Linked DNA regions of Homo sapiens: all the other regions are linked to region 4. Evidence: promoter capture Hi-C in human tissues and cell types (Jung and others, 2019). All regions are on one chromosome and are shown on one strand. The core of a region is centred on a gene start or on the middle of the fragment in contact, and the rest is flanking DNA. Distances in the headings are between cores, read along the strand shown. Region 1 overlaps UTRN (utrophin). Region 2 has its middle 23 kb from the start of SF3B5. Region 3 overlaps UTRN (utrophin). Region 4 holds the start of UTRN (utrophin). Region 5 has its middle 42 kb from the start of PLAGL1. Region 6 overlaps UTRN (utrophin). Region 7 overlaps UTRN (utrophin).

The links. Contacts are between HindIII fragments. The study calls those that stand out against the background at their distance.
Region 1: a contact is called between a fragment that was not itself captured here and the fragment with the promoter of UTRN in region 4, in 2 of the 25 tissues and cell types used here (mesenchymal stem cells and spleen).
Region 2: a fragment that was not itself captured here is called in contact with the fragment with the promoter of UTRN in region 4 in 2 of the 25 tissues and cell types used here (spleen and thymus).
Region 3: a fragment that was not itself captured here is called in contact with the fragment with the promoter of UTRN in region 4 in 2 of the 25 tissues and cell types used here (spleen and thymus).
Region 5: a fragment that was not itself captured here is called in contact with the fragment with the promoter of UTRN in region 4 in 1 of the 25 tissues and cell types used here (spleen).
Region 6: a fragment that was not itself captured here is called in contact with the fragment with the promoter of UTRN in region 4 in 2 of the 25 tissues and cell types used here (spleen and thymus).
Region 7: a fragment that was not itself captured here is called in contact with the fragment with the promoter of UTRN in region 4 in 8 of the 25 tissues and cell types used here (bladder, dorsolateral prefrontal cortex, heart right ventricle and 5 more).

The regions. Positions count from the first base shown.
Region 1 is chr6:144,467,692-144,470,391 of GRCh38, forward strand. All of the region lies in intron 23 of UTRN (utrophin), which reads left to right. Among named protein-coding and RNA genes, the nearest start is that of SNORA98, 63 kb to the left of the region's middle. RefSeq lists an enhancer at 1,941-2,617. The HindIII fragment of the contact is 4,554 bases long and covers 1-2,700 here.
Region 2 is chr6:144,071,538-144,074,237 of GRCh38, forward strand. No RefSeq gene overlaps it. Among named protein-coding and RNA genes, the nearest start is that of SF3B5, 23 kb to the right of the region's middle. The HindIII fragment of the contact is 3,452 bases long and covers 1-2,700 here.
Region 3 is chr6:144,449,734-144,452,433 of GRCh38, forward strand. UTRN (utrophin) reads left to right here. Exons shown (of 75, transcript NM_007124.3): 18 at 1,637-1,760. Among named protein-coding and RNA genes, the nearest start is that of SNORA98, 45 kb to the left of the region's middle. The HindIII fragment of the contact is 5,884 bases long and covers 1-2,700 here.
Region 4 is chr6:144,284,048-144,286,747 of GRCh38, forward strand. It overlaps UTRN (utrophin), which reads left to right and starts at 1,288. Exons shown (of 75, transcript NM_007124.3): 1 at 1,288-1,774. LOC124901418 reads left to right here and starts at 2,451. Exons shown (of 1, transcript XM_047419641.1): 1 at 2,451-2,700. The coding sequence starts at 2,624. RefSeq lists an enhancer at 658-727 and silencers at 858-917, 1,128-1,227. The HindIII fragment of the contact is 2,482 bases long and covers 1,005-2,700 here.
Region 5 is chr6:144,048,792-144,051,491 of GRCh38, forward strand. It overlaps a transcript of PLAGL1 not described here. Among named protein-coding and RNA genes, the nearest start is that of PLAGL1, 42 kb to the left of the region's middle. The HindIII fragment of the contact is 4,345 bases long and covers 1-2,700 here.
Region 6 is chr6:144,530,573-144,533,272 of GRCh38, forward strand. It overlaps UTRN (utrophin), which reads left to right. Exons shown (of 75, transcript NM_007124.3): 42 at 480-630; 43 at 2,513-2,688. Among named protein-coding and RNA genes, the nearest start is that of SNORA98, 130 kb to the left of the region's middle. The HindIII fragment of the contact is 6,702 bases long and covers 1-2,700 here.
Region 7 is chr6:144,507,857-144,510,556 of GRCh38, forward strand. The region is part of intron 34 of UTRN (utrophin); the gene reads left to right. Among named protein-coding and RNA genes, the nearest start is that of SNORA98, 100 kb to the left of the region's middle. The HindIII fragment of the contact is 4,170 bases long and covers 1-2,700 here.

The sequences.
Region 1 (2,700 bases), core at 106-2,605, 180 kb after region 4:
CAATACTTTCTAAGAGTAATATTAGTACGGATGATTTAACCCTTCTTAGGTAACATATAATTGATATAATTATCTCATAAGGGTTTGAGTTTTTTTTCTCATTTGTGAACACATTTTACTTTACTGAAGGGAATATTCATATATTCCCTTCCTTAGATTTAAGAACCTTATTAGTTTTTAATAAGTGTAGTAGCAGTGTCATTGTTTGTCTTCCCTACTAAGTGAGAGAGCACATTTTCAAGGTTGTGTTTTTGAGGTTATTGAGTATTATAAAGTGAAACAAAATAGGAACCTGGCTGCCTTAAATTACTGTTTTAATTCTGGCTTCACACTATTTTTTTTTTTTTCTGGTCTATGTCTTAAAAAGCTGTGGACATTCCGACAGATGGGGGAGGAGCAAAAGAAAATGCCAAGAATTTAGCTGTAATCAAGTCTCCAGAGGTAGTTGTGTACCTTGCAATCTTACTGTCTTAAATCCAGATTTACCAAGCTTTAAATTACCTCCATCCTTAGGTCACAGGATGGGGGATGGGAAATGAGGTGAGATAGGGTCAGAGGAATTGTTTTAATGACCTTGCTGTTCCTTGTCCGTGATCCCATAGCAGGTTGTTGCCCATCTGAAATGCTTAGAAATCATTGCTTTTGAGCAGTGATGGTCCATGTAGACTTTGACCCTTCCATACTAGAATATTTGATATTTTGATTTTCAAAAAATACTGTATTCGTAATTTTATATTCATTTGAATATTTGTGAGTAAAAATAGGTATGAGAAATGGCTGCCCCAGATTAGTACTTAGTTTATTTTTTTTTGCATGTGAAATAATGACATTTGCTTTAGAAATTTACTAACAGTTTTTATATTTCGTTTTGGTTTGTAAGAACTGAAGTCCCTTAAAGAAATGTGTGTGTGTGTGTGTGTGTGTGCATGCGTGTGTTCTGTAAGCAGATGGAGGTGAAGAAAAAAATCGTCATTATTGTAGATTAGAAGCTTGTAAGTGCATCAGCTGAGTAATTTTTAAATGGACAGAGAAACACTATTTTCATGTGAGCTCTTTGACGATCTTTGTAATCAACCTCTTTGTTGTGGTGGAATTGACTTAAAGATGAGCAGACTTTTGGTATGTTTGAAAAGCACAGGAAACATCTGCTACAGGTTGATTGTGACAATATTTTGCTCAGGGAAAGGGGAGATAAGATAGGGAGAGTGGAAGGCAGAGTAGAGCTCCCTGTCTTCTGCCTTCACCCATACAGGTACAGGTGGTAGGTAGCATTGATCTTTGGGACTTGATAACCCTTCCCGCGCGGTGTGCCACGAGGTGGAAACGCCGAGTGAATCTGCTGCTGCCAGGCACTTCTAAAGGATGGGCCTTTCCTTCTGTACCAATTCCTTCCCATGAGCTGTATTTGGCCAGGTCTAGCCAGATATATAAGCAGTAGCCATTTGAAACAGTTACTTTGAAACAGTTACAGGATAGAACAAGCATTAATGTTGGCAGCAATTAAAAAAGTGAAACCCATGCTTATGCAAACACATGCTCATCCTGGCTGTTCATTCCTGTGGTGCCTCTGATGGGACATAAACACCAAAACTTGGATGTGGTAACTCTTTTATGGTCTCAATCTTGGTCATAATAAAGCAGTTGGTTTTGTAGATCTTAGTATAATAATCGCTACCATTTAGTGCATTCTTCTATGTGGGAGTCTCTGTTTTTCAGAACAACCAGACAAGATAGTTGTTATGATTCCAGTTTCACAATGAGTTATTAAGGCTCAAAGAAAAATTAGTTTCTCAAGGCCCCATGGCTAGGCAGGTGCTGAGCTTGGTAGTCAGACCTCAGCATTTCTTTATATGGGCACACTGTCTCTTTTAGAGCACAGTGTGGTTAGAATTACATGCAGGATTTTTAGTAGTGAAAATATTATAGTGTGGCTTTACAGGTTCCCTTCTATTCCCTTTGTCACTTTTGGGATGATCCATTGGCCTACATGGCTTCTCTGTCTGTTTCTTTCCTTTTTTTTTTTAGTATTTATTGATCATTTTTGGGTGTTTCTCGGAGAGGGGGATTTGGCAGGGTCATAGGACAATAGTGGAGGGAAGGTCAGCAGATAAACATGTGAACAAAGGTCTCTGGTTTTCCTAGGCAGAGGGCCCTGCCGCCTTCCGCAGTGTTTGTGTCCCTGGGTACTTGAGATTAGGGAGTGGTGATGACTCTTAACGAGCATGCTGCCTTCAAGCATCTGTTTAACAAAGCACATCTTGCACCGCCCTTAATCCATTTAACCCTTAGTGGACACAGCACATGTTCCAGAGAGCACGGGGTTGGGGGCAAGGTTATAGACCAACAGCATCCCAAGGCAGAATAATTTTTCTTAGTACAGAACAAAATGGAGTCTCCTATGTCCACTTCCTTCCACACAAACACAGCAACAATCCGATCTCTCCTTCTTTTCCCCACACTTCCCCCCCTTCTATTCCACAAAACTGCCATCGTCATCATGGCCCGTTCTCAATGAGCTGTTGGGTACACCTCCCAGACGGGGTGGCGGCCGGGCAGAGGGGTTCCCCACTTCCCAGATGGGGTGGCCGGGCAGAGGCGCCCCCCACCTCCCAGACGGGGCGGCTGCCGGGCGGAGACGCTCCTCACTTCCCAGATGGGGTGGCTGCCGGGCGGAGGGGCTCCTCACTTACCAGATGGGGT
Region 2 (2,700 bases), core at 194-2,693, 210 kb before region 4:
CCATCTATGGCATTTTTGTTACAGCAGCCTGAACTGAGTAAGACACATTTTATATATTCTCTCAATCTTTTCTGTCTATGCATTTGCTTGGGGAAGGAGGACAGGGTTCTAAGTAGCCCCAAGGAAATAGCTAATAACCCTAAGCAGAGGCAAAGCAATTATCAAGAAATTAAAGGAAATCCTACATGAAATTATCTGTCCATTCAAAGCTGTTATCTCTGCATTGAGGAAATAATGCCAGCCCTAGCAGAAAGTAATTCCTCCGTTTGCTTCAGTGATTCTGTATCTCCTGGCTCTCCTAACACTCAAAATATTTCTTTATCGTCATTCTTTCCTCTTTTCTTTTCTTAAATGTGGGGGTCTTCCAATATTTTAGCTTGAAACATTTCCCTTTATCTTCGCTCATTCTCCTTTCCACTTATGTTCTTGGGAAGCACATAATAAATCACTTCTAGGCATACAGATTCCAAATCGCTAGCCCTGAAAGATCCCCAGTCACAAGATACCTGTTTTTTGTTTTTTTTTTTTTTTTTTTACTGCCTGCTGAACATCTTGCCCTGCAGTGCGCACCAGACTTTCTCACTCAACATTCCAAACTGAACTCAGCATCTTATCACTATAACTAGTTTCTTATTTCAATTTTCATAATTCTAGCAGCACTGCCATTCTCCCAGATGCCTACATTTGAAAACTAACTTTGTGCCTCTGTTTCTTCTCTGTCCTTCCCTCCCCGTATTGTATGTCCCAAATCTATCAAAAGTGCACTTAGAGTAAGCTTGGCATGTGTATTCTTATGATACCTATCTTATTCTCTTGGGAATTACACAGATGTGACCGTTTTAAGGAAAATCCATAAAAAGAAATGAAATTTAAATAGTAGTATTTAGATACTTAAGTTAGTATCAATGATATTATTCATTCTACAAAAAAGTACTTTTGTATAACCTCTTGACAAGTACGAGATGTAAAATTCAACTTCTACCTCTAATAATTTAATTTTTACAGGCTAAAATTACATGCAGTTATCTTTTTGCCTACTAGAAGAAAATAGTAACATTTTTAAACTATATATCTGTCATTTGTCCAAGTAATTTTATTTTCATGTGAAAAGTTTAAGCATACAAAGAAGAGAAAGTAGTAAAATGAACTCTCATATGACCATTGCTCAATTCAATAAATACCAATATTTTGCCATGTGTGCCTAATATATTTTTTCTTTTCTTTTGTTAAAGTATTTAAAGCAAAACCCAGACATCAGCTTATTTCATTCCTGTTTACTTTCTTATGCTATTATAATAGTGGTATATAATAGAAGCATATAAGCATATCCATACTAGCACATAAAGCATATAATAGTGTTATAATGTGATCATAACACTAGCAAAATTGATGGTCATAGCTTGGTGTTGTATAAAACCCATACTGTATTCAAATTTTCTCTATTGTCTCAAAAATGTGTTCTTACAACTGTTTTTTTTGGGGAGGGAGGGGTATTGTTTTGTTTTATTTTAATCAGGGACCACACAAGTTCTACCCAATGCATTTTGTTGTTATTGCTCATAACTCCTTTTTAGTCTTTTTATTTTCCATGCCATTAACTTGTGGAAGAAACCAGATCCATAATATTCAAACATCCCACATTCTGCATTTGTCTGTTTACTTCCTTGTGGTACAGTTTAACAACTTGTTCCTCTATTCTCATCGTTTCTGTAAACCGATGCCACTGTTTTGTTTTTTGCATTTTGTATATTTTTCCCACTGCGTGTGAGTCACTCAAAAAAATACATCTTTCAGTGATGCCTTTTTTCCTGGATTCATCTCAGTTGGGTTTTAATCTTTCAATAGATACCAATTATGATGAATTAGTCATATTCTAATGATTTCCCTAAGAATAGATTGATGCATTAATAAGGGATCTGACAACACATAAACATGGGTTGAATAAAAGAAAATTATTTTAGAAAAATTCAGGAAATGATTATAATTGTTTTATATAGCTAAGTTCTTTGATTCAGTATGCGGTACTGTAAGAACATTCTCTGCGGTATTATGAGATATATATAAATATATATATTGGTTTTTGTCCACTGTTCCTGGTTCATACCTCCCATAAGCCCTTGCTACAGTCTTTGTTCTAATGTTGGGTGTATTTGGCCTCAGGGATAGGCCTCTGCCTTTCTCCTGCCTTCCTTTCACTCTCCTGTTTCCCCGCCTGTCTGATAGTGGGTGGGTCTTAAAACCCTCCCAGGAGAGGGTCTCACTCTACACCCTGGGGTAAGGAAAGCTGATGTTTTGAAGCTTTCATAAAAAACCCAAGAGGACGGGTTCAGAGAGCTTCCAGGTAGCTGAACACACTGAGGTGCCTGCAGGTTGGCCTCCAGGGAGGGCATGGACGCTCCACGTCCCTTCCCCATACGTCACCCTACATGCCTCTTCATCTATATTCTTTGCAGTATCCTTTATAATAAACTGGTAAGTGTAAATAAGTGTTTTCCTGAGTTCTGTGAGTGGCTCCAGCAAATTAATTGAACCCAAAGAAAGGGTCATGGAACTTGCGACTGATGTGTGTGTAAGGGGAGGCAATCTTGGGACTCAGCCCTCAGCCTGTGGGATCTGACACTGTCTTAGGGTAAATGGTGTCAGAACTGGATTGGAGGACACCCAGGTTGTGTCTATTACTTGGTGTGTGGGAAAAAAAAA
Region 3 (2,700 bases), core at 83-2,582, 170 kb after region 4:
CACAAGAATCAGCAATAACGACTTGTGCCACTGCTTAATGTATCGAGAAGCTCTGTGGGGAGGGTACTAGTTAAGAAGACAGTCTTGGTTTGAATCCCAGCCTCACCCTTTGTTAGCTTTGTGACATGGGACAGTTACTGAAAACCTCTGTGAGCTCAGTACCTTCATCTCTAAAGGGGATAATAATAGTGTATACTTTTTAGGGTGCTGGTGAGGATTCCTTGAGTTAATAATAGACATAAAACACTTAGAAAGGGGCCGGGTAGAAGGCCAGCAATCAGTGATCGTGACTCCTCTTGTTCCTCCTTGCTGTGGTTTTGACCAACCTTCTCAACACCTCTCAAACCTGTCCTTTCGTCTTCCTTCCCACTGTTACTATCTTAGTTGTGACTCCCGTTGCTTTCACAGCCTGTTCTCGACTCGTCTCTCTTTAATGCCTTCTCCTCAGTGAACACTAAAGGATAAATAGAATCATGTCAGTTCCATGCATAGAACTCTCCCTTGGCTCTCAACTGCCTTTGGGTTAAGTCCAAACTCCTTAATATGTCCTGCAGGGCCTTCTTGTAGCTGGTCCATGTGATTCTTGGCCACATCGTCAATTGTCCCTCCCTTGTGAGTTCAGTACTCATTATTCCAGACACGCCTAACTAATACTTGCAGTTTGCAAAATGTGATCTTCCCTTTCTCTGCTTTCCCTTGGCAAGGGAAACTCCTCAGTGTAATGCTGTTGTTCTCCTTTAGGAAGCCATCCATGCCCCAATTGGATTAGAAGCCACTCCTGTGAATTCCTGGAATTAGCACCTAGCAAATTCTTTTGTTATTGCCTGTTACTTTCCATTGCTTACTAGACTAGAAGCTCCTTGGGAGCTGAGATTTGTATCTGGTTCACTTTCATATCAAGAGCCCAGCCCAGTGCCTGACATTTAGTAAGGCTCAATCATTACATATTGAACAAAAGAAGATGTTAACTTTAGTAATGTCTGTACTTGTTCTTTGCTGATTATCTAACCAACTCTGGTTTTTATTATCTATAAGCATTTATAAAAATACAAGTGATTCCTTATAAAGGTGAAAATTGTTTTAATATGTAAAGTTTTAAAAATTTTTATTTAAGGCCAGGCATGGTGGGTCATGACTGTAATCACAGCACTTTGGGAGGCCAAGGCGGGCCGATCATGAGGTCAGCCTGGCCAACATGGTGAAACTCTGTCTCTACTAAAAATACAAAAATTAGCTGGGTGTGGTGGTGGGCACCTATAATCCTAGCTACTCGGGAGGCTGAGGCAGGAGAATCCTTTGAATCTGGAGGCGGAGGTTGCAGTGAGCCGAGATCGTGCCATTGCACTCAAGCCTGGGTGACAGGGCGAGACTCCATCTCGAAACAACAACAACAACAACAAATTATTTAATTATTTTCTTCAATTGTTTATTAACCCTATAATATTATTACTCTTTTCATACTTTTAGTTGTAAATATATGATCTCATTTTGCATGGTTACCCTATTTCTGGGTTGCTGTTTTTGGGGGAGTGATAAAAAGACATATTCCTGATGAGCATTTGAGTTGCTCTTTCTGGAGTCAAGTAAAACAGTAGAAGGAAACATGACAAATGGTCACCTCTGAATCTTCAAACAGGTTTGATGCTATAAGTGCAGAGCTGTTGAACTGGATTTTGAAATGGAAAACTGCCATTCAGACCACAGAGATAAAAGAGTATATGAAGATGCAAGACACTTCCGAAATGAAAAAGAAGTTGAAGGTAAAAAACATAAACCACATATATCCTAGTGCATAAAATAGTTCATCATGCTGGATTTTCTGCTGGCATAAAGACATTATGGAATTCAAAAGCCTCCTGTAAAATAAATGTAGGCAGAAGGTAGCTTTTAGTACATTGTAGTGAATTTTGAATCCATTCATGCTAGCTGTCATCAGATCCCTATTTGGAGGACGTTTTTTTTTTTTCATCTTTGTCAGTCACTGAGATGTACAGTGAGGAATACTTCTTATGGTGATCCAGTTAGTGGTACTACTTTTTAGTTAGTTTAGATCACCCTTAATCTGGTATCTAATAATTTATGACTCTATATTAACATTATGCTGAAGATGTTTTGCCTTCGGAATACAACAAACTATTTTAAATCAAAAAGTGTATTCAATATATTTTCTTTAGAGTTGTAAAAAATAAATACAATTAAAAGGTGTGGGATCTTAGCCCTGCCGCTTTCCATGCTTATGTGTGTTTCTGAAGAGTGTGATGGGAACTTGCAGAGCTTTTTTGTCCTGGGTGCTCATACGTCTCCTACACATTACTGCATTAACTATTTGGGCACCTGGGTAGAGAATCTATAGTCTAGTCTCCTGCCATCTTAAGAGGTAGCAAAAAATCAACTTGTAAAAAGTAGATAATTGCCTTTTTCTCCAGTTCGATGGTGACTTTTACATTGATCTTTAGTTAGACAAAATAAACGGTGTTTCTTAGAGTCTCTTACTAATATTCCTTGATCTTTGACTATAAGAAGGTTGTTCTACCTAGTCACAGTAAACTTTGTGAAAATCAAAGTAGGATAGCTGAATTTATTTGATAGCACTTACATGTAAACAATTTAGAATTGGGATTCTTCTCTGGATTGTCTGGTTGAAGTAATATGGGTTGCTCAGAAGTTGTGATTGTGTTATGATGGATACTATTTGAATAG
Region 4 (2,700 bases), core at 38-2,537:
ACAAGGAAGAGTCTCTTTTGGGAATCTCCTACCTGCCCCCTCCCTGGAGCACTTAGGGATGGATGGGGGAAACTTTCACTATAACAAAAGGCGAGTAAACTCTTTCTGAAAATTAGTTTAAGGCCCCTAGTGGTTTAATCTTTACTGCCGCGTAAATTAACTCAAATATTAAGCCAGCAATAAACCGGCGCTCCAGTATCAACCATCCTTTTCTCTGTTAATACGAACTAGGAACTCAGGTTGCTGTTTTCTTTCCCCTCCCACGTGTGCTGATCGTGTAAAAGAATCACAGGAACACACGAGCAATGAAATGTGTAAATAAGAAAAATGCACACACATCACGAGCTCATTTCTTCCCAGATATTTTTTGGTCAACCTCTCAAGCTTGGAACAGGCTCTATAACAGATGTGCGTTTGTGTGTGCATATTGGAAAACAGAAAAATAAGGTCAGCGCAAACACTACTTGTAATACAAACTAATGTAAGAGAAAACTTCTTTTTCAATATTAACAACGACACTAGAGAAATAATGTAAAATAAATATACGGTTGGAACTAGGGGTAAAAAAAAAATCAGCAACGTCAGCAAACTGAGATGGGGTGAGTTGGAAGGCAGATTGGAATTTATCTCTTAAAAAAATATCACCCTAACTAGAGACCTGTTTTGCCTAAGGGGACGTGACTCACATTTTCGGATAATCTGAATAAGGGGAATTGTGTCTGCTCGAGGCATCCATTCTGGTTCGGTCTCCGGACTCCCGGCTCCCGGCACGCACGGTTCACTCTGGAGCGCGCGCCCCAGGCCAGCCAAGCGCCGAGCCGGGCTGCTGCGGGCTGGGAGGGCGCGCAGGGCCGGCGCTGATTGACGGGGCGCGCAGTCAGGTGACTTGGGGCGCCAAGTTCCCGACGCGGTGGCCGCGGTGACCGCCGAGGCCCGGCAGACGCTGACCCGGGAACGTAGTGGGGCTGATCTTCCGGAACAAAGTTGCTGGGCCGGCGGCGGCGGGGCGAGAGCGCCGAGGGGGAGCCGGAGCGCTGCAGAGGCGCGGGCCGGAGGGCTGGCGCTGATCTGCACCCTTCTCATCTGGAGAGCGGACCCCTGGCTGCCCGGAGGCGAGCCCCTTCCCGGGGGGTGGGGGCGGCAACGCGCGACCCAGCGGTCCTGCGCCCCACCCTCCCTCCTCCGCCTCCAGCGCTCGGCTCCAACAAAGGGGCAGGCCCGCAGCGGGGAGGAGGAGGAGGAGCCGCCGAAGGAGCGAGCCTCTCTCGCGCACAAAGTTGTGGAGTCGTTTTTCCTCGGAGCAGGGAAGCGGGCAGCAGCAGCCGGCCGCGGGCTTTCTCCCGCCGAGGGGCGAGGAGGAGCCTCTGGCTCCAGAAGCCGATTGGGGAATCACGGGGAGCGGCGCCCCCCTTCTTTTGGGTCATTTCTGCAAACGGAAAACTCTGTAGCGTTTGGCAAAGTTGGTGCCTGCGCGCCCCTTCCAGGTTTGCGCTTTGACTGTTTTGTTTTTGGCGGAACTACCAGGCAGGAAGATTGCACAAGTAAGGGGCGTTTTCAGTCGGGTGTCAATTTCTCTTTCTTTCTTTCTTTTTTTAAAATTTCGGTTCGTGTCTGCTTCTCCAAGCTTTATTTTTTTTTTTAAATACATCGCACCACCAAACTAACACTCGCACACACCCCCGCGGTTACTCCGTGTCAAACTCCTAGAGGAGCCCTTGGCCAGCTCGGGGTGCGGCGGTGGCGACCGGCAGGCGAGGAGGCCCGCGGGCAGCAGGTAAGCCCATGCATTATTGAAGCCTCGGGCTGGTAATGTGACTACAGCCCCCGAGGGAATGGGGCGGGGGCCGGGAGGAGGATGGCTCTTTCTGTGGTTCTTCCGCCTGGGATCGGCGTCCCGAGCTGCTTCCCAAGTCCCAGAGTCGAAGATGGGAGTAACTTTTGCGTGCCCTTTCCTCGGGGCCTCAGTTTAGCTCCCCGCGGTGCGAGAGAGAATGCCGGAGGCGTGGAGAGCTCGGGCGTGGAGGTCCTTGGGATCCGTACTAGTTGTGAACGATCCAAACTTATCTGACCAGCTCTGTGCTGCCTCCCTGCTCCCCTAATCTTCCTCCCCGCCGGGGTGACAGAGTCGCCCTCCGTGCATCGCGCGGTGCAGGGCGCTGGGCCAGTGATTTGCAAGAGGGGACGTGGCCTCTTAGGAGAGTCTGTCACAGACACCCGGGCCCGGGGAAGGCGGGGCTCCGGCGGTGTCCACAGGAGAGGGTGGGCAGAGGGTGGCTGTGTGGTCGGCGGCCAGCGGAGCGCTTCCCAGCCAGCCGCCCGGCGGGGAACGTGCTTGACCTCTGGGTGGTTGCTGCTCCCAAGGGTGGGGCTCCGGAGAGTGTGGCGCGATCGCCAAGCTCCCTGGCAGCGGCCCTGGAGAGACTGAGGGGACAGGAGGAGGGGGGCGCCCCATTGGTGTGTAGTCCCGCGCAGTCGCCGGCTCTCCTTTTCCGGACTCTGGGGATCTCTTGCTGCAACTGACAAGGTAATTCATGCCCCGCTTTGGCCCGGGGTCCGAGGCTGTGGTTGCTCAAGGCCACTTAAAAACCAACAAAGCACCAATTGAAGGCTGTGCAACTTTCAGATGGCAGGTTGTTCAAAGGATTTTTTCCTCCAAGCCTCAGATTATGAAAGGGACTCATTCCAGTGCGTTTTTCGAGG
Region 5 (2,700 bases), core at 179-2,678, 240 kb before region 4:
GGCTCCTCATTACTCATGCAAATTTCTGCAGCTGGCTTGAATTCCTCCTTAAGAAAATAGGTTTTTCTTTTCTACTACAAGGTCGGGATGCATATTTTCCAAACTTCTATGCTCTGCTTCCCTTTTAAATCCAAATTCCAATTTCAAACCATCTCTTTGTGAATGCATAAGATTGAATGCTTTCAAAATCAACCAGGTCACCTCTTGAATGCTTTGCTGCTTAGAAATTTCTTTTGCCAGTTACCCTAAATAATCTCTCTCAAGTTCAAAGTTGCACAGATCTCTAGGGCAGGGGCAAAATGCCACCAGTCTCTTTGCTAAAGCATAGCAAATGTGACCTTTGCTCCAGTTCCCAAGACTTTCCTTATCTTCATCTGAGACCACCTCAGCCTGTACTTCATTGTCCACATCATTAACTGCATTTTGGTCAAAACCATTCAACAAGTCTCTAGAAAGTTCCAAACTTTCCCACAACTTCCTGTCCTCTTCTGGGCCCTCCAATCTGTTCCAACCTCTGCCTGTTACCCAGTTCCAAAGTTGCTTCCTCATTTTTAAGTATCTTTATAGCAATACCCCACTACCTTGGTATCAATTAACTGTGTTAGTCAGTTTTCACTTTGCTATAAAGAAATACCTCAGATGGGTAATTTATAAAGGAAAGAGATGTAATTGACTCACAGTTCTGCACGGCTAGGGAGGCATCAGGAAACTTACAATCATGGTGGAAAGCAAAGAGGAAGCAAGCTTGGACCTTCTCACATGGAAGCAGGGGAAGAGTGAGGAGTGAAGGGGAAAGAGCCTCTTATGAAACCATCAGATCTTGTGAGAACTCACTCACTATCATGAGAACAGCATGGGGAAAACTGGCCCCATGATCTAATTGCCTCCCACCAGGTCTCTCCCTAGACATGTAGGGATTATGGGGATTACAATTTCAAGATGAGATTTGGGTGGGGACACAAAGCCTAATTATGTCACTCTATTACTAGTCCCATTTTTCAAATAAAAAACTGAGACACATGGAGGTTTGATAACTGTGTGACATACTTAGAAGGTGGCTCCAAAGCCAAGGTTTTTATCCTTCGTGCTGCGTAGCTTCTGATCATGAGGGAGAGGATAAATTGAGTAAGCAGGGTCCAACAGTGCACAAGACAGGTCTGGACTAAGATCCTTCGAAGCTGGAGAAGTGGAGGGGAGGAAAGGTGCAGATGCGAAAAATGGCAGAAGGGGGAAAGGGTGAATGGGAGGGAAGCCATTCACAATTTAGAGCCTCGGCTTTTTGAATGAAGTAGGAGAGTAGTTATTTTTCATGAAAGCAAGTAAGGGTGCTTACTTTGAGTTTAACTCAAAATATTTATGTGTCTGGTGAGTTTTGAGGGAAATTGAGACCACCTAAGGGAACAAGAGATTCACATTGCCCAGAACGTACTCATTCCAGGACAATACACCCACTGTGTGACATGCTAGGGGCAACCTCCTGTGCTAATTATTGTTCTTTTATTTCCCCTTGAAATCGACTGCTGAACTCAACTAAGTGAAATATGTCCATAACACAATGCTGCCAGAAGGTCTTTGATACCAGCAACCAGGGCTTGCTCGGCTTTCCTGCCCAAATCCCTTCTCAGAGCATTTTTATCGCTCATATGTTATTCTCTTTTCTTCTGTCTGAGGAGAGAAAGATTCTTCTACACTCTTTTAAGGCTGTCTCTTCTCTATGTTTATGTCTCTATTATTACATTATAGGCTTATTCTAGGGAATAAATATCTTATTCCTGCCTTGCAAAGAATAAGCACATGATATTTATACACATCTCTGTGTCAGGTGCAGTGGCTCATGTCTATAATCCCAGCACTTTGGGAGGCCAAGGCAGGAGGATCACTTGAGGCCAGGAGTTTGAGACCAACCTGGGAAACATAGTGAGACCCTGTTTCTACAAAAAAAAATTTTTTTTTAAGTAAATCAGGTGTGGTGGCACATGCCTGTTGTCCCAGCTACTCAAGAGGCTGAGGTGGCAGGATCACTTGAGTCTGTGAGTTTCAGGCTGTAGTAAACTACAATTGTGCCACCACACTCCAACCTAGGTGACAAAGCAAGACCCTGTCTCAAAAACAAAACAAAGCCAAAAACCTTAGGGAACTGTATCTGTTACTCTTTTATTACCAATAATATCTTCAGGCAAAATCTGCTGACAAACATTTATAAATTAAATGTAAAAATAAAATCTTAAATCAGCTTTAAAATAAGTCAGTACATGATATGTAACAACTCTAAATCAGCTTTAACAGTTTGTAATATGTAACAACTTAAAATCTAGACACCTACAGACTATCAGATAATGTCTAGGAAATCACCTCAATTACGTACTTTCTCTAAGTTTTCTATATATCACACAATTAAATTACAATAAATTTCAGAAAACAATGAATCCACTCAATACAGGAAACCACAATAAGCAAAAGTGCAGGACACAGGGAAACCAATAACTGCAACATGTATGTGCTTAATGGAAAAAGATCCATTCAGGCATATATTTAGATGCCAAACAGCTTCTCCTAGCACTTTCCTCACACTAATTCTACTTTATTGCTTTGAATCCTTTTGGTAAACAACACCCACCATGCATGAGGCACACACATACAATCAAATAACAACTAAGGACAATCATTTACTCCTGTTTTTTTCACAAATGATATCTTATT
Region 6 (2,700 bases), core at 112-2,611, 250 kb after region 4:
TTTTCCCCAAGAAAATAATGAATCATATTTTATATTTCACAGTATTTAAATGTTAAATGTATAAAGTTGGATGCGTTAACATGCCTACAACTAATCGATCCTGATTTTTCAAGCCAGAAAAGGCTGCATCTTTTTAGTTAAAAAGCTGCTCGAGTGTGTGTGTGAGTGTGTTTGTGAGTGTGTATGTGAGTGTGCATGTGTGTATACGTGAGTGTGCATGTGTGTGTGTATGAGAGAGAGGATTTGGTAGCTGGTGGTGTGAGCAGATTGCTTTGCCCTTGTTATGATGCATATATCTCTAGGAGGAATTATTACCTGTATCCCACTACGAAAATTGGTTTTGTGGAGCAATAGGCTGTGAATTCAGTTGTTTGAGGTCTTTCTGTTTAAATGAAATTTGATTTTCTTTTTTAGAAAAATGGCTTTAGGCAGTCCTGGAAAATTTGGAAACCTATTTTATTTTGTGTATTGTCCTCTAGTTGTTTTGACAGGGCAATGGAAGAATGGAGACAGTTCCATTGTGACCTTAATGACCTCACACAGTGGATAACAGAGGCTGAAGAATTACTGGTTGATACCTGTGCTCCAGGTGGCAGCCTGGACTTAGAGAAAGCCAGGATACATCAGCAGGTGAGTGCTTTCTGTTAGAGGAGGGGGACTGCACATATGGTTAGTGTATGCCTGTTAAGACAGATTTCAGAAGTAGGGACAAAATATATTAATTTTTCAGAAGTCAATGGACAATTTGTAATTTTTGTTCCAATTCTTGTTACCAGTTATAAAAGTTTAAGAAATTGGTCAATCACAATTTTCAATCAGGATTTCAAAGAAATTTAAATAAAAATACTCCTTGGTGGCTAATGTGAAAAACAATTTTATTTAAACAATTTTATATTTAGAATAAAATTTGTAAACTGTTATGCCTAAGACTATACCAAGAACAGAAAAAATATTTGCATGCCTCACCTCTGTTTTTTGTACTTAAACACTTAGGCATCTCATTTTTCTTTGTATCATTGATAATTATCATAAAGTAAATTATTCTGGAGCGACAGCAGGGCAGCTGCTCATGTAAGTCTAATTCAGTCTTGGGAAAATATAACACAAAGTTAGTTCTGATAACAATAGGTCTTTAAAAATAATGGTAGAAAGCACACGCAATTTCAATTCTACCATTGATAAAAATATTTTCTCTTTTATTAAGTTTTTTAAATGTATTTTATTTAGAAGGACATGACAATTTAAAGATAATTCATTTGTTTTTCTTATAAATGTGTTAATGTGGCCGGGCGCGGTGCCTCACACTTGTAATCCCAGCATTTTGGGAGGCTGAGGTGGGCGGATTATGAGGTCAGGAGATCGAGACCATCCTGGCTAACATGGTGAAAACCCATCTCTACTAAAAATACAAAAAATTAGCCGGGCATGGTGGAACGCACCTGCAGTCCCAGCTACTCAGGAGGCTGAGGCAGGAGAATTGCTTGAACCTGGGAGGCAGAGGTTGCAGTGAGCCAAGATCGTGCCACTGCACTCCAGCCTGGGTGACAGAGCAATACTGTGTCAATAAATAAATAAATAAATAAATAAATGTGTTAATGCATTTTTCTTATTTTTGGAGTTACAGATAAGTGTTTAAATTTGACTTGAAAATATTCATTCAATCTGTTACTTAAACATTTGTAGACCAGTGTATTAGTCTGTTCTCATGCTGCTAATAAAGACATACCTGAGACTGGGTAATTTATAAAGGAAAGAGGTTTAATTGACTCATAGTTCAGCATGGCTGAGGAGGCCACAGGAAACGTCCAGTCATGGTGGAAGGGGAAAGAAACATGTCCTTCTTCATATGGCGGCAGGAGAGAGAAGTGCTGAGCAAAGTGGGGGAAAAGTCCCTTATAAAACCATCAGATCACTCTCACTAGAACAACACGAGGGTAACCACCCCTGTGATTCAGTTACCTCCCACTGGGTCCCTCCCTTGGCATGTGGGGATTATGGGAGGTACAATTCAAGATGAGATTTGGGTGGGGACACAACCAAACCATATCAACCAGTGAAGCAATATCTTAGTAAAATGTGCATTTAGGTTTACTTGTATGTGGTAGGACACAAGGATATAAGGATTTATTGGGGTATATAATTTTTTAAAGCAATGCCTTCAAGCACTTGCTTGAAAGAAGATGAGCAATTCATTTTCATCAAACATGATTGATGCTTATGCTTTAATGTAAACAGCTGTTATTCATTTTAGTTATTAAGCTGCCCTATTTCCTTGTATTTTGCCTGATGACATTCATGAAGGTGGGTTAGATTTCAAAATAAATTTCATTTAGCATGTTCATTGAAATGTAATTAAATTGTTTTAAAATGCCTTTTTTTTCTAACATAAAATATCTTTCCAGGAGTTTGTTTCTTTCACACTTAAATTGATACCACAATACTTGGGTGGATTCATTGCATCAGAATCATTTACTTATTAGTGAAACTAATCTTGAGTTGTGCTCTGTTACAGGAACTTGAGGTGGGCATCAGCAGCCACCAGCCCAGTTTTGCAGCACTAAACCGAACTGGGGATGGGATTGTGCAGAAACTCTCCCAGGCAGATGGAAGCTTCTTGAAAGAAAAACTGGCAGGTTTAAACCAACGCTGGGATGCAATTGTTGCAGAAGTGAAGGATAGGCAGCCAAGGTGATTTAGCTA
Region 7 (2,700 bases), core at 58-2,557, 220 kb after region 4:
TGCTCACAGCTGCCCTTTCCCCCAGGTGCTCTGTCCCAGGCAGATGGGAGTTTTCTCTATAAGCCCCTTGCTGGGGCTGCCACCCTTCTTTCAGAGATCAGACAGTCTGGCTACAGTTGCTTTTCTGAGCTGTGGTGGGTTCTGCCCAGTTTGAACTTCCTGGAGGCTTTGTTTACACTGTGAGGGGAAAACTGCCTACTCAAGCCTCAGTAATGGTGGATGCCCCTCTCACCACCAAGCTCCAGCATTCCAGGTCGACTTCAGACTGCTGTCCTGGCAGCGAGAATTTCCAGCCGTTGGATCTTAGCTTGCCGGGCTCCATGGGGATGGGATCTGCTGAGCTAGACCACTTGGCTCCCTGGCTTCAGTCCCCTTTCCAGGGGAGTGAATGGTTCTGTCTTGCTGGTGTTCCAGGCACCACTGGGGTGTGAAAAAAAACAAACAAACAACTCCTGCAGCTAGCTTGGTGTCTCCCCAATCGGCTGCCCAGTTTAGTGCTTGAAACCCAGGGCCCTGGTGATGTAGGCACCTGAGGGAATCTCCGGGTCTGTAGGTTGTGAAGGCCTTGAGAAAAGTGTAGTATCTTGGCTGGATAGCACCGTACCTCACGGCACAGTCCCTCATGGCTTCCCTTGGCTAGGGGAGGGAGTTCCCCAACCTCTTGCGCTTCCCTGGTGAAGCGACACCCTCCGTGGGCTGCACCCACTGTCTAACCAGTTCCAGTGAGATGAACCAAGTACCTCTGTTGGAAATGCAGAAATCACCTGCATTCTGTTTTGGTCTTGCTGGGAGCTGCAGACTGGAGCTGTTCCTGTTTGGCCATCTTGCCAGCCACCTCCTCTGCTAGCTCTTTTATAGTTTCATCTTTTTACCTTTAATGCATTAATCTTTCCAGTATTTATTTTGGTGTATTTCGTGAGGTAAGGCTCTAACCTTCTTTCCAAAAGGATAACCAATTATCTTAGTGCTATTGGTTGAGTAATTAACCTTGTCCCCATGGATTTGACATGCTAAGTTCATATATTCTTATTTTCCTGTTGCCTTTCGTTGTTTTCTGCTCCACTGATCTGGCCCCATGAAATGTACCAGTTTTTAGAATGTTTAGCCATGTTTTATAGTATATTTTAACTGCAGTTAATGGGTTCCCTCTCTTTATGCTTCATTTTTGGTATATATCTTATATGAACTTTAGAATTTTTATTGTTAAATTCTTAAATTCTATTGGAAATTTTGATTTGAATTGCCTTGAATTCATACATTTGTGTAGTGCAGAATTGATATCTTTGTTATATTAATTCTATTCGGTAACATATATGTCTCATTTTTGTCCTAAATTCTTTCACATTCCTACATAATGTTTTGATTTTTTTCTTTATAAACATTATTCATATATGCACAGGAGTTTATTCCTACATATCTATTTTTATTGCTATGTAAAAATATACTTTTCGGTTTTTTTACAGAGTGCTTATTGTTGGTACATAGGTGATATTGATTTTATATATTCAATTTTTAAACATCCATGTTCATATACTCATAAATTCAATTTGTTTTTCAGCTGATTCTCATAGCTTTTTTAGGTAAAGACTCAAAGCAATGAAAAATTTGTTTCTTTTGGAACAATATGCTCTTAAGTTTCCATTTAATCTTATTTCAGAATTGAAATGATAAAGATGATATATACAAGTCACAAATTCACAGCACATTCTCTTCATTAGAGTAAATCAAATGAAACATCAGTATATATTAATAACCACCATCTTTTTATCACTGTCTTTTCAGATTTAAGGAACATGCAGATTTCACCACATTTTAATGTATTTGCACTTAAAGATTATGTAAAATTATTTTCAATGCAAAGCTTAAATAAATAATATTTTCATTTCTGAATACTGTTTTTATTCCATAACTTAAATATAACTATTTTCAATGTAATCTTTTTTACTGTAAAAAAGTATGTGTACTATTTAGATGTAATTACTTGTAGTTCATTATTTTTTATAGTTCTTAAATGCTATTCTAGTCAATCAGTACATGCCCACTGAAGAAATGAAAGATTCTTATTAATAATTGCTGAGAGCATAGCTATTGGGTATCCTTTATTTTCTCCCCCCTTGCTAGAGAATAATATTGGAAAGTAGTATTTCAGTTCTGTCATAAATATGCCAGTAATTGACATGGCCAAGTGAGTGTTTAAACCTGGACTCATTTGTGAATTTGTAATTGGTATGCTTTCCAAGGTGTGATTTAATGTAGAAATATAAACTTGAGCTCCTTAAAATGATTGGTTTAAATGTTGATTTAAAAAATGGTCAATAATAGTAGCAGTAGGGTAGATACATGCATATTGCTTTTTGATTGAAAGAGCTTTGTAGTTTTAATTGTGGAACTCATGCTCTCTCTATAATTCTGTGACTATATACTTTGCCTGGTGAAACTTACGAATGTGCCGATCACTTTATCATCATACCATCCAGAGTATTATCTTTGCACTTATGACAGTTGTAAGACCAAAGCTTAGACTTGCTGCTCTCTTGTGAGTTACTTACATGAAATGTTTTTTTGTAATGTTTATTCAGTATATTATATGTGAAATCACCCAGCTGTAAGATGTTATCCTTGCAAGTACCTATAGTACACATCGATAGTTTCCTCTGGTAATCTAGGAGATAAATTCATTGTGAATTTTTTTAAGTTGTG